Linked DNA regions of Homo sapiens: region 2 is linked to region 1. Evidence: promoter capture Hi-C in human tissues and cell types (Jung and others, 2019). All regions are on one chromosome and are shown on one strand. The core of a region is centred on a gene start or on the middle of the fragment in contact, and the rest is flanking DNA. Distances in the headings are between cores, read along the strand shown. Region 1 holds the start of EML5 (EMAP like 5). Region 2 has its middle 61 kb from the start of TRA-AGC15-1.

Region 1 (7,213 bases), core at 2,335-4,834:
TAAATATAACTAAAAGATAAATGACTAGAGAAGTATACACAAGTAGATGGCAAAAAGAAGATGGAGAACTACAAGCAACACTGAGAAAATGATGAAATGTCATGTGGCACCACCACTGGCAATCCCAGGTGATAATAAAATGGTCAAAGAACCAGTAAGCAAATGATAGACTAGTCATGATTCAGCCTTTACTGAGAAAATGATGAAATGTCATGTGGCACCACCACTGGCAATCCCAGGTGATAATAAAATGGTCAAAGAACCAGTAAGCAAATGATAGACTAGTCATGATTCAGCCTTTACTGAGAAAATGATGAAATGTCATGTGGCACCACCACTGGCAATCCCAGGTGATAATAAAATGGTCAAAGAACCAGTAAGCAAATGATAGACTAGTCATGATTCAGCCTTTACCACCAACATTGCACTCACATTTTCAAAACCTGAGGACAATGATCTGCTCATTCTGGAACAGTTCTATCCTCAGACTAAGTAATATTTGACCAATAAGTTTTACATAAGTTTCAGGCAAAGGTGGAAACAAAACAGATGATGAAAACAGCACTGACTTTTTATTACTAAAGCTAAGGTTACAGCAACATTGGTTTTCACTATGCATCACATTTGTGAATATTACATCTTCTGCTGTGGCATAATTTAAAAATTACTAGAGTTGTTTCTATACTCACAAGTCAAACACTGAACTGAAAAAATATTGAGGTTTTAATATTAGCTCAATATATTTCACAAACATGAATGATCTGTCATTACTATTTGAAATAAAATGTCCAGAGCCCTTTCACTGATTCCTAAATTATATTCTCAGTATCATATTAAATTTGTGCCACCAATTTCAAGATGCTGTATGATTCAGATTTTACTCCCTCATTGAAACTTTTCAGGAAACTTATTTTCATTGTTATACATTAAAGATGTGTCATTTGGATAAAATCATAAGCATGTATATTCAACGATGAGAAATTCGAGTATGTTTGTTGTTTTGTATAAGTTGTGCAACTATACCAAAAGAAAGTCAAAGCATTACCTTCCTTACAGTTTACTGAAACACAATTATGAAATTTAAGCGGTGTGACATATAACACAGCTTCTAATTACTGCTAGAAGAACAAGATGTAATTTACCTCACCAAATAAATCATATCTAGTTTCAGAAGACCTTAGTGCTATACTGCTCTCATAACCCCCAAGGAGTAAAAACAATACAAGTGTACCACGAGAAGACCTCAAAATCCTTCACATTTACTCCACCAGCTGAATTCAACCTAACAGACTAAATTATCTGGAGCAGGGCTTCAGTTAAGGCTGCTCCAGCTAGGTAAAGCTACTATGCCTGGTACTTTGGGAGACCTAGCATATGGAAAAGAAGGGAGACTTGAAAGGATTAGGGAAAAAGACAAGACACTGGGGTAAACTCTACTCTTGGGATAACTAAGAAGATAAATAATTACTACGGGTTTACTTTAGTTTTGTTTTTCCATCAGCAATTTGGGCTATTATAATAGGTCTGTAACCCTAATCACCACGATACAGAGTCCCAGCTTGAGAAAAATGAAATGACTTATCAGTTACCTTTTCAAAGTAATACATTAAATACAATCTGAAAAAGCACTCTGGTGTCCAAAAAACAAAAACAAACAAAAAAAACCAACTGAATACAGAGCACCACCTCATTCCTTACTCTGCAATCTCAATTTTGTCTTTTCTTATCTTTACTCCATCTTGCCCTACCTCTGTTTGTCCTAGGCATCCTTTCCCTCTTACATATTATAGATGTACAGAGACGCAAAACAGAAGAACAACTTTATTTGTGGAATTTACATACCAGGGCTTCTTGCCTACAAGACTTCAAACCAAGGTACCGTATTTGAAATGCCCAATTTAAATCCTGTGCAACATACATGAGGGAATAACATTTTGTAACCAAACCCAAATCGTAGAATCTTTGATAAAACCCCAAGAGCACCACACAAACACATTCTCAATTGCTTTTAATATATTTTCCTCTGTAAAGGACAAAAAATGCTGTGCTTGAGGCAATAATCAGTGGCCTAGAATGATTTCTGAAGCTCTTGACTTTACCATAAAAGTTGTACTAAGACACTGATTGAAAATTACATTTCAAATATACCGCTCACTAAAGAAATGTCAACAAGCTCTGGGACCAACTTTGAGTTATTGTCCAAGGAAGACTAAAAATAGCCCCCCAATAGCGATTTAATTTTAAGAAAATACAAAAGTAGCTTATTTAGGAGTATTTTAATGAAGATGAAGAGAACTGGAAATCAGTGAAGTTTTCAGCAGCCTCTTCAGATAAGACCTACCTTAAATTGCCTTCAGGTGTGCACATTTTAACATCCAGTGAATTGCCTGGAGGTTGCCTGGGGTTTCTGCTGATTATAGCAGGCGGTGAAACCTGAACTAATAATTACGGCCAGGAGGTGAGAGCCCTTCAGGACGCCACCCTGGGCGCGCTCCCCGGGAGCAGCCCACCGCTTGCTGTGCTTCCATCAGTCCTTTATTAGGTAAAGGGTTTCCCCCCACCCCGGGTGCTTTAAGAATGCGTTTAATAAGAAATTTCTCACAGGATCTAACGGAATAAAGTGCCACCAAAATAACCTTTTCGCAGTTTTCGTAATTGTGATGGAGTGGGAAAGGGGACAAAGCCGTCAAACCGGGTGCCCGGTGGATCCGCGGACCTGATCTTCCTGCACGGACCCGAGAGAGAGTCCCTAGACGAGGAAGAGGGGAAAGGCATTTGTAGGGTGTTAACTGGTGGACTCGGGACCAGAGAGACAGCTGCGGATTCCCCTCGGGGTGATGCTCCGTGCAGGAGCGGTCACGGCGTCCAGAGGAACCCGCGGGTGCAAACTCCGGGAGCGGCTTGCAGGGTGACGGCGGCGGCCCCCGCTCCCCGGTACCTGATGATGTCGTCGCTGTGGCCCCGGTAGAACTTCTGCCTGTGCTCCCGCGGGCTGTACACCACGCCGACCCCCGCCACGAAGTATACGATCTCCTTGGCCGCAGTGTAGTAGAGGTTGTTGCGGCACTGGTGGCCCCGGTAGCCGTACACCCACTCGAGCCGCAGGTGGCAGCTCGGGGCGCTCCGGGCCGCCATGTCGGGGCGCCCACCCGCCGCTCCCGCTCGGGCCCGCGGCGGCGACGGGAGGCGGCGGCGGCCCGGCAACGAAAGCCCTCCCGCTGGCTGCCGGGACTTCCCGCCAGCCGCGTCCTCTAAGCCGCGCCCGTCAGGTGCATCTCGTTTCGGGGGCCGCCGCCGCCTCAGCCCACAGGCGGGAGGAAAACCCTCGCCTCGCGGAACATGCTGAGGGCCGCGAGCGCCGCCGGCTGTCAAGTGGATGCCCAGAGCCCTTCGCCCGCCTCGGCTCGCCTAGTCTCCTCAGCCCGTAGCGCCTGGGCCGAGAGCGAGGGCCCGCCTCCAGCTCCTCAGCCGCCGCCCGCGCACGCAGCTCCCAGCCCCGGTCACCTGCGGCGCTCGCGCCCCGCCGCGGCTTTGTAGCCACAGCCTGGCGGACCCGCGCCGCGCACCCCGAAACCGAGCGAGCCGAGCCGAGCCGAGCCGAGCGGCGGGCGCGCGGCCTTGCGTGGCCCCGCCCCCTCCCGCGCTCACTCCGCCCCTCCCGGAGCCGAGAAGAGGCTGGAGTTCGCGGGGCCACGGTCTAGTTGCGGAGTCGCTGGGACCGCGTCTCTGCAAGTGCGCGGGCCGGTGAGCCCTCCCTCGTTGAGCTGCTTAAGCCCAGGCGGACCCTCGGCGACCCCGGGCTCCCGCTGCTTTGCGTCCTCAACCGGGAAGCACCTGCCGGTTCCGCACGGTCCCTGCACCCAGCGTAGGCCACGTTTTTGCCTGGGAAAATCCACACCGGGATGCTAAATTCTCTTTTTTACGCTTGATACCTTGTGTGTCTTGCTGCCTTATAGTGCTTTCGGACCCAGACATTGGAATGATGCCGAGCTTCCTAAATGTGCTTTTAAATTATTATTTTTAGAAACAGAGCCTCGCTCTGTCGCCCAGGCTGGAGTGGAGTGGCGCAGTCTCAGCTCACTGTAGCCTCCAACTCCTGGGCTCCAGCGATCCTCCCGCCTCAGTCTCCGGAGTAGTAAGGAGTACAGTTGCGTACCACTATGCCCGGCAAATGTTTTGCTTTGTTTTTAAGTTTATTTTGTAGAGGCGGGGGTCTTGCTGTGTTGCCCAGGCTGGTCTCCACCTCCTGACCTTCAGCAGTTCTTCTGCCTCAGGCCTCCCAAAGCGCTGGGATTACAGGCCCAATCCACTGCTCCTGGTCCTAAGTGTATGTTTTCTTAAGTGACCGCAAAGCTGAAGGTAGACTTTAGATGGTAAACTGACATGTGAGATCTGATTTCCGAATAGCAAAAAAAAAAAAAATTGTACTTCGATTTTTTTAAAAATGACTGGGACATCACCAACAGTTACTCTTAATTAAATAAATTCAATTGTGATCCTGTAGAAAACTCCTGTAATAAAAGTATTGGGAACAATCAATTCCTGACTATGTCATTTCCCCTCCTACTCAGTTGTGTCCTCTTCTCACAGGAATATGAACAAGATTTATCAATACCTCTAAAAATAATTGGAAATCCACAATTTAAAAAGTGTTAAGTTCAGGATGGCCACAAGATTTACAACAAAAAAATACTAATTCAGGATATACCAATATGAACCCTTATTGTCTAAAAATTACTGTTTGATTTCCATAGGAAATACCAAGACAGAAATCTGACAAAAGCTAAAATAAACTACCATCGTTTCAAGAAATATGACTCCAAAAGGGGTTGACTCCTGTGTGGTACAGATATATTGGAATAGATGTTATCCAATGTCTACTTCCTCAAAGATGCCAGTTACTAACTTGAGACAGGATTACCGTTTCGTCTTTGATTATGACTTCTAATCTGCAAGCAGTTTACATGCAGGAAATAAAGGCCATCTGAAAGGAATTTACATAGATGTCATGAAAAGTAAACTCTGAAAGAGTTTCCATTCTGGGCAGAATCTGAAAAAGAGGAATAGCTTTCTGGCAGCTGCTGCAAATAAACAAAGAAATCAGGCCTGAGAAGTGGCTCTAAGGCCCATGTAGGGTACCCTGGGCAAAAGCACACACAGTTTCTCTTTGTCACCAGGAGGGCGTTTTCTGTTTTTTAATAAGAATATGTTCTAATTCACTAGTGAGTTCCTTGAAATCCCCTGGTGAGAAAAAGAAAAATTGTTGATTATTTAAATTCAAGCAGTGAACTTAGAAAACATTAAATATTTGTTGCTATACATTTGTGATATATTAATTACTGGTTACATGTAAATTTTATGAGACGAGATGGAAGAATATAGTTTTTTCTATGTTTCGGATTTTTCAGCACAATATCTTATGGATCCCATGATACACACTTAAGTACTCAGATTAATAAGAGATTTAAGTAATTTATTTTCCCATTATCATATTTTCCATTACGATTTTAATGACCCAAGTGTAGAGTGCGAAGCAAAAACATTCTTAATTAAACCATCCTCAACTGGCGACTCAAGACCAAAAGAGACAGCCGAGGCACAAAGGTGGCTAGAAAATGAACCATTCATGAATACTAGAGGAAGAAAAAAACAAACCTGATCAGTTCTTACCCTCACAACTTTATATAATCCAGTATTACCAATGTCACATCAGAAAGCTTAATGAAGCTTCTATTGCTAGGTGATATTCCATCATCTGTATCCTGTGAAAGTAATGCAAATAAGGATGTGGGAGAAAGAAACAAAAAATTATACACATCAACAAATGGACATTTGTTAAGCATTCCAGACGAAGGCTGCAATACCCCCTGTATTCGTCCGTTCTCATGCTGCTAATAAAGACATACCTGAGACTGGGTAATTTATAAAGAAAAGAGGTTTAATTGACTCACAGTTCCGCATTGCTAAGGAGGCCTCACAATCATGGTGGAAGGCAAAGAGGAGCAAAGTCGCACATGGCAGCAGACAAGAAGAATTTGCGCAGGGGAGCTCCATTTATAAAACCATCAGATCTCATGAGACTTATTCACTACCACTAGAACAGTATGGGGGAAACCACCCCCACGATTCAATTATCCCCACCTGGCACCACCCTTGACATGTGGGGATTATTACAATTCAAGGTGATATTTGGGTGGGATACAGCCAAACCATATCACCCCCTTTGGTAATCTAGTTCCTGAAACTTGAGTTCCTAGTATGGAATTTGAGATATTTGAAATATTTCTAAAATTCAGGCAAATAAATCATGTGCTGGCTACTGATTAGGTACCCTTAGGTTTATAAAGAAATCTAAGGCAAAATGTAGAAAACATAAAAACCAAAATTCCCCAGCCTGGCCAATATGGCAAAACCCCATCTCTACTAAAAATACAAAAAAAAGTAGCCGGGTGTGGTGGTGCAGGCCACCATCTCAGAAAAAAAAAAAAAAAATTCATGCAATTACTTCTAGCTAGCATGGTGGCTCTCACCTCTAATCCCGGCACTTTGGGAGGCCAAGGTGGGTGGTCAGGAGTTTGAGACCAGCCTGGCCAACATGGTGAAACTCCATGTCTAGTAAAAACACAAAAATTTGCCAGGCATGGTGGCGGGCGCCTGTAATCCCAGCTACTCGGGAGGCTGAGACAGGAGAATCGCTTGAATCCGGGAAGTGGAGGTTGCAGTGAGCTGAGATCGCACCACCGCACTCCAGCCTGGGAAACAAAGAGTGAAACTCTGTCTCAAAAAAAAAAAAAGTATATATATATTATATATATATTATATGTTATATATATTATATATATTATATATATATTATATGTTATATATATTATATATATTATATATATATTATATGTTATATATATTATATATATATTATATGTTATATATATTATATATATATTATATGTTATATATATTATATATATATTATATGTTATATATTTTATATATATATTATATGTTATATATATTATATATATATTATATGTTATATATTTTATATATATATTATATGTTATATATATTATATATATTTTATATATATATTATGTTTATATATTATATATATTATATATATTATATGTTATATATATTATATATATTATATCTCTTATATGTTATATATATTATATATATATTATGTTATATATATTATATATATTATGTTATA
Region 2 (7,213 bases), core at 1,429-3,928, 120 kb after region 1:
AGGGAGGAGATACCACAAAACATGGGCTGCAGCTTGGACCCCTGCCCCATATTTTTAAACCCAGCCTATCTGGCTTGAAATTTCTAGTCAAGATGCTGCATTTGGATCTACCTTTAAGCCGTCCACCTTGTAAAGGCATTTTTTCCCTCATATAGCCCTAAACACCTCTTTACAAGCAAGGTGATTTACCCGAGTTGGCTGTCCTACTTAATCAAGCTATTAAAGCCCAAACTGCAGTGTGAAAAAGGTGCAGGCTCAATTTAGGTGCCAAGTCATTACAAAATTGGCCCTTATGAACTATAATTAGGCAAGAGAGCCCACAGCTGATCCAGATGGCATTAAGGAACAGAAGAATGAGTCAAGGGCCAAGGGGACAGGTGTACCATCCACGGAGGCTTTCCTCACACAAATGCTTCTTTTCCTTCTTTTCCTATCTTCTCCGCTGGTGGCAGCAGCCTCTCTCATTGTGGCCTCTCCACTAAAGCCTTAGGGTGCAGGGGTGGAAGGGTTAGGGCAGAACCTAACATCCAGTGTTGCCGTGAGTGGGGTGAGCCTGGGGCCCTGTTGAAACCCAGGCTAAATCATAGTGGGAGCCTCTCCTACCCCACCTCCCTCACCACTTCTAGGATTTTCATCCAAAGCAAAAGAGGCTTCACTGAATGTCAAGTCAGACTTGAGAAGAAACAGAAAAGAGAAGTGCAAAAATGATAGGAGGGAGGCAAGAGTCTCTTATGAGGCAGTGCCCACAGCTATAGTGTAGAGCTGGCTCAAGCCACAGCCAACAGAAAATAGGAGCTGAAGAGAAGCTTGCCCAGGGGGGCTGCCTTAGCCAGAGCTTCTTGCAAATCCCCCAAATGATTTTCACATCCTTGCATTTAACTCCTCCATCTCCCCCACCCCCGCTCTGAGCAGAGGTGACTGTAAACTAGTTTTTGTTCCATACTTCTAGAGTGTTACCACGGTGGTTGCAGTCCACTAAGGGCAGTTGTGAGATACCGGAAGTCAAACCCAGTTTTCCCTTATCACCTCTTTATGTCACTGATTTTCAATTTAACAGTTACAGAGAAAAATGAATTTGGCTGGTTTCACGATAAACCAAAGAAAGCACACCTGAAGGCAGGTGAGTATCAGGTGCTGTCTGTAGGTTTCCTATCAATGAATGGAGTGGAGGGATGTGGTTCATTCTTATTTTCTCCCTGACGTCTCTCCCGGCCCAGAGGACCACTCTGTTTTAAGCCATGGGATGATGTTCTTTGACTTGCCAGAGTGGCTGCTTCTCCTCTGTCTTGCAAGGGAGGGTCCCCCTCAGAGGAGTGAGACAGCTTTCAGACCCCACAGTAGAAAACAAAGAGGAAGAAGCATCTGGGGCTACAAAATGAAACAGAGTCCTCTCAATAAGCTCTAAATGACACTGGGCACCATGTCATCTCTACATGTTCTCTACACCCAGTGGTGTGCTACCACACGTTTAACAGTTGGTTCTCTGGGGAAAAAAAAAGACCTAGTTTGTAGCATATGCCAATTTCTATGGTGTAAATACTACCACTCAGATGAATTTCAAGCTTTCTAATATGAGGTCACTGAACACAAAGTTGGGAAGATAAAAGCACCACTGGCTTTTGTGAGCTGGTGATTACCACCAATGTTTCATGGTCAACAACGTGAGGGCAGGTGTACTTCATCTCGAATGAAAGCTGCGGTAGAACTCAAAGAAGTAAAAGGTATAGAAGTAACAGGCATGCAAGGCTTGAGGAACTGGGCAGAGATTAATTTCTCTGCAAAATGAGAATATTGGGAAGATCTCTTCGGTGACCCAAAACAGAGAGACTTAGGAAGAAGTATCAGACAGGGCGTTTTGGGGGTTGGGAGTGGAAAGCAGGTAAAAATCCTATTTGACATGTATTAATTGTGTAATTTTAAAAGGAAAAAGAAAAACAATATTAAACAGTATTCTGGGCTATGCAATGTAGACTTCCCTGTAGCATCCTTTAAGAAATCTTCAGTAAAATCTTCAGACTAATTCTTCACTTATGGTTATTTGAGTGGCTTTTGCTTCAGGGGCTGTGAGGAAGTGATGAATTCTGCTGTGAGGCTGTTGTAGGATAAAGCTGAGTCTGCTTATGAGAGAGCTGCTGTATCCAAGACCATTTAGTTACAATCTCTTATTTATTCAAATCAGAAGGTAAGCTCCACAAGGGCAAGGACTTTGTTTTGCTCACTGCTATCTCATTAGTGTCTAGAAATATACGTGGAAGATTGTGATAGCTAATCTTGAGTGTCAACTTCATTGAAGAATACAAAGTACTGTTCCTGGATGTGTCTGTGAGGGTGTTGCCAAAGGAGATTAACATTTGAGTCAGTGAACTGGGAAGGGCAGACTGACCCTCAATCCTGGTGGGCATAATTTAATCAGCTGCCAGTGCGGCCATAATAAAAGCAGGCAGGAATCAGGGAAAGACTAGACTAGTTTAGTCTTCTGGCCTCCGTCTTTCTCCCGTGATGGATGTTTCCTGCCCTTGAACATCAGACTCCAGGTTCTTCAGCTTTGAACTCTTAGACTTATACCAGTGGTTTGCCAGGGCCTCTTGGGTCTTAGGCCACAGACTGAAGGCTGCACAGTCTGCTTCCCTACTTTTGAGGTTTTGGGACTCGGACTGGCTTCCTGGCTTCTCAGCTTGCAGATGGCCTATTGTGGGACTTCACCTTGTGATCATGTGAGCCAATTCTCCTAATAAACTCCCCTTCATATATACATCTATCCTATTAGTTCTGTGCCTCTAGAGAACCCTGACAAATACAAAGACGATCAGTAAACACTGTTTGAATGTTATCGAATAGCTTTTTAAACATCACCATGGTGCTTAACACAGCACAGTCCAGTGGAACTTTCTGCAGTGGTGGAAATGTTCTATGTCTGTGTTGTCCAATGTAGTGGTAGCCACTAGTCACAGGTGGCTGTGGACATCTAAACATTTGGCTACTGCAATTAACAAACTGGATTTTAAATTTTATTTCATTTTAATTAATTTAAACTTAAATGAACACCTGTGGCCAGCATCTACCACACTGGACAACACAGTAATCACTTTGCTACTCCAGTTATGGTCTATGGCCTAGCAGCATTGGCATCATCTGGGAGCTTGTTAGAAACTCAGAATTTCAGGCTCCACCACTGAGCTACAAAGCCAGAACCTGTATCCCATTCCCACACGGTCATACACACGTCAAAGTCTGAAATGCTCTGCTCTAACAAACGTCGGCACTTTCACCTACTTTATTTTGTGTGATCCTCATTAAAAAATCTACATTGAGGATATCATTCTTCCCGTTTTATTTATTTTATTTTTATTTATTTATTTTGAAACAGAGTTTTGCTCTTGTTGCCCAGGCTGGAGTGCAATGGTGTGATCTCGGCTCGCTGCAACCTCCACCTCCTGGGTTCAAGAGGTTCTCCTGCCTCAGCCTTCTGATTAGCTGGGATTACAGGCACTTGCCACCACGCCCAGCTAATTTTTTTTTTTTTTTTTTTTGTATTTTTAGTAGAGATGGGGTTTCGCCATTTTGGCCAGGCTGATCTCGTACTCCTGACCTCAAGTGATCCACCCGCCTTGGCCTCCCAAAATGCTGAGATTACAGGCGTGAGCCACTGCACCCGGCCTTTTCTTCCTATTTTATAGATAAGGTAATTGAACTTCTGATTATGTGATTTTCTTAAGACCACAAAGTGGAAAGGAGAGACGGGGTCGGCAAGCCCAGCATTTCATCTGTTCTGTTCTCTCTCTGTATGCTGGGGTAGAAGATAGCAGGCTAGATCTGAGCAATTTCAGCACCATTTATTCCAGGACTGTTTTAAAATGGAATAAGATCACAGCACTTTACTGCCAGCAACATGAGCTATCGATGTAAGTGATAGTGTAGATGGGTTGTGAAATGGAATAGTTTTGTGGGGCAGGTAGAGAATTAGCTTCCCATCTCTTCCTCAAGTATAATTGAGTGAGTAGGAATGAAGGCATGGCCTCAATGTAATGGCAGGCTTGCTTTTAGCCAGAAAAACTGGTCCTTTTGTTGTTCGGGATCTACTTATATGCATACAAGTTCTAGCTGCTTTTCATTTGTTTGTTATTGCATCATATAAAAGGGTTGGGGAGATTTTTAACAATATGGAGATTAAATTTGACTGGCTTAATGAACAATTCCCTTCGAGAAGTCCCAGGGGTGAGGATGTGGTTCCCTCTATAATGACTGAAGATGAGATACAATGACAGAGAAATGAACGGTGGCTTTCAACATGAACCCCAAATCAAAAAAAGGTCACAAGGACTCAGACTACAAATTATAAGACCTGGTTTGCTCTCCAGCACCCTTCCGTGGAGACATCTGTTTATAGCAAGCTCCAGATTCATATTGAATAAATTAATACATGTATTTAATTATGGCAAATGAATCCCTCAAGCAACGTTAAGAAGTCTGCAATGAGTATGTGCTGTTCAGTCACCAAGTTTTCACTGGGGACACTTTCTTCCCCAGAGCAACCTGTTCCTAGCCAGCCTACACTATTTCATTGGCCCTACCCTTGTAGAATTAAAACTCTCAAGTGAAAGGACTTGTTACCAAAAATAATGATATCAGTTCAAGTTAGGTGTATGTACTCCTGGTTTGCAAACCAGCAGTGAGAAAGAACAAGCAAAGGAACAAATAGGTAAACAAAGACAGAAGGAAAAGCAAAATAATAGATTCAGAGTTATCAACAAAGCCGTGAAATAACAGGCCTCACCTCCTCCTGGCCCAGCTACCCTGTGACCTCTGTTCTCCGGCAGGGAGAGCAGTTACTCTTCCACCCGGGCACCTGAGCTGGCATTCCTGCCATTGCAGTCACTCTTGGTTCATCTCTGAAGGCATGCTTGCATTCTTGACTCATTCCTCTCTCTCACCCTTCACATTGAATTGATCATCAAATCTGGTCTTGTTTTTTAAGGGTATACAAACAATAAAACTTTATTCCACCATAAAAAGGAATGAAAGTTTGATACAAGTTGCAACATTGACAAACCTTAAACACATTGCAAGTGAATTATGACAGAAATTAACAGGACAAATATGTATGATTCTACTTCTACAGAATATTTAGAATAGGAAAAATGAATTGAGACAGACAATAGATTGAAGGGAGCAGGTACTGGGGTGGTGGTGGAAATGTGGGTTATTGCTTAATAGATGCAGAGTTTGTATTTGGAATGATGAAAGAAATTGCATATTGTGGTTATGGTTTAATGACATTGTAAACATAATTAATGCCATGGAATGGTCCACGTAAAATGGTTGAAATAAAAAAAATTTATGTGAAAACTTTAATCAATATTTGAAAAACTTTAGGTCACTGAAACACACAGTTAAGATGATGAAATAAACCTACTGAGTGGAAAAATATTTGCAAACTACACGTACAGCAAAGGACTAGTATCTAAAATATATGAAGAGTTATCAAACTCTAATAGTTAAAAAAATAAACAATCCAAGTACATAGTGGGCAAAAATACATGAAGAGTCATTTCAGAGAAGAGGATATACAAGTGTTAAATAAACACATGAAAATTGCTAATGATGTTGAAAATCTGGTCAATTCTAGTTTTTCAATAACTCCATTACATCATTTCTCCTGCTAGGGTAATAATTCAGGTCTTTATCATTTTACCTGGAATTCTGCAATTGCCTCTTAACTACTCCCTTCCAACTCCATTTTTAATCTCCCCCCTCATCAATTCATAATTTCTGTGAAAACAGAAAGCAAAATACCAAGCATAATTAGACAAATATCTGTATTTCATTATCAGAATTGTCATATTGTATCAAGTCTTTTATAAAATTATATTACAGTTCTAGATAACATCCTCTTCATTCACTGACTCCTCTTTCCATTCCCCTTCCAGCTCCTCCCCTGGCGGTCACCACCATGAGTTTGGAGTGTATGGTAGATCATGTTATTTGTTCCCAATAATTTATTGCCTCCTTACCCTGTTATGCTTCCCTGAAGGCAGAACACACTTCCCCAAAGACTTTGGGCTTGGTCCTGTGACTTTCTTTGGCCAAAGGAAAATGAAGCATGCCAGATCTGATCTTGCTTTAAATGTACTCTCATTATTTAATATTGCCCTTCTTGAATTCTTGTCCTCTGCCATGGTTACAGCAGATTCCAGATAGGAGCTGCTCCTCCAGCTGGGGTAGCAGAGTGAGAAGCCACATGATGCTGAGCCCAGCTGAGCCCAGCTAAACCCACCAGAGTCCAACAGAGCCTGACAGAGTTGAAGAGGGACATTGAGAAACAACAGCCTTCCTGTAATGTGAATAAAAGCAAATGTTGTTATTGTAACCCATTAAGATCCCGGAGCTATTTGTTACACAGCAAAGGCTGACTAAGTCAAAATATTTATGTATGTGAAGGCTTACAAAATGTACACAAATATTTCTTGTAATGGTTAATATTAAATGTCAACTTGATTGGATTGAAAGATGCAAAGTATTGTTTCTGGTGTATCTGGGTGTTTATGGGTGTTGCCAGAAAATATTAACATTTGAGTCAGTGGACTGGGAGAGGAAGACCCACTCTCAGGAAGACCCACCCACAATGTTGGTGGGCACCATCCAATCAGCTGCCAGGGTGGCTAGAAAAAGTAGGCAGAAGAAGGTGGTAGAAGCAGACGTGCTGAGTCTTTCTTGCCTTCATCTTTCTCCCGTGCTGGATGCTTCCTGCCCTCGGACGGCAGACTCCAAGTTCTCTGGCTTTTGGACTCTTGGTCTTACACCAGTGGTTGGTGAGGGGCTTTCGGGACTTTGGCCACAGACTGAAGGCTGCACTGTTGGCTTCCCTACTTTTGAGGTTTTGAGACTTGGACTGAGACGCTACTGGCTTCCTTGCTCCTTAACTTGCAGACAGCCTATTGTGGGACTTCATCTTGTGACTGTGCAAGTCAATTCTCCTTAATAAATAAATTCCTTTTTATATATACATATATCCTACTAGTTCTGTCCCTCTAGAGAATACATATGTATGGTGTTTATTTTGTATATTTTGATATACATATGTGTAACCATAAGCAATATATAGTTTTGCTCAATGGGTGTTCCAAGTCTACCCAAATAATTGCATTCTCTACATCTTGATTTTTTACACTGGAGATTTGTTTGGGGTATCTACCCATGTGGATGTGTACAGATC

The links. Contacts are between HindIII fragments. The study calls those that stand out against the background at their distance.
Region 2: a contact is called between a fragment that was not itself captured here and the fragment with the promoter of EML5 in region 1, in 2 of the 25 tissues and cell types used here (aorta and heart left ventricle).

The regions. Positions count from the first base shown.
Region 1 is chr14:88,789,369-88,796,581 of GRCh38, forward strand. It overlaps EML5 (EMAP like 5), which reads right to left and starts at 3,585. Exons shown (of 44, transcript NM_183387.3): 1 at 2,939-3,585. The coding sequence starts at 3,135. RefSeq lists silencers at 3,096-3,175, 3,366-3,725. The HindIII fragment of the contact is 27,448 bases long and covers 1-7,213 here.
Region 2 is chr14:88,914,848-88,922,060 of GRCh38, forward strand. No RefSeq gene overlaps it. Among named protein-coding and RNA genes, the nearest start is that of TRA-AGC15-1, 61 kb to the right of the region's middle. The HindIII fragment of the contact is 4,961 bases long and covers 199-5,159 here.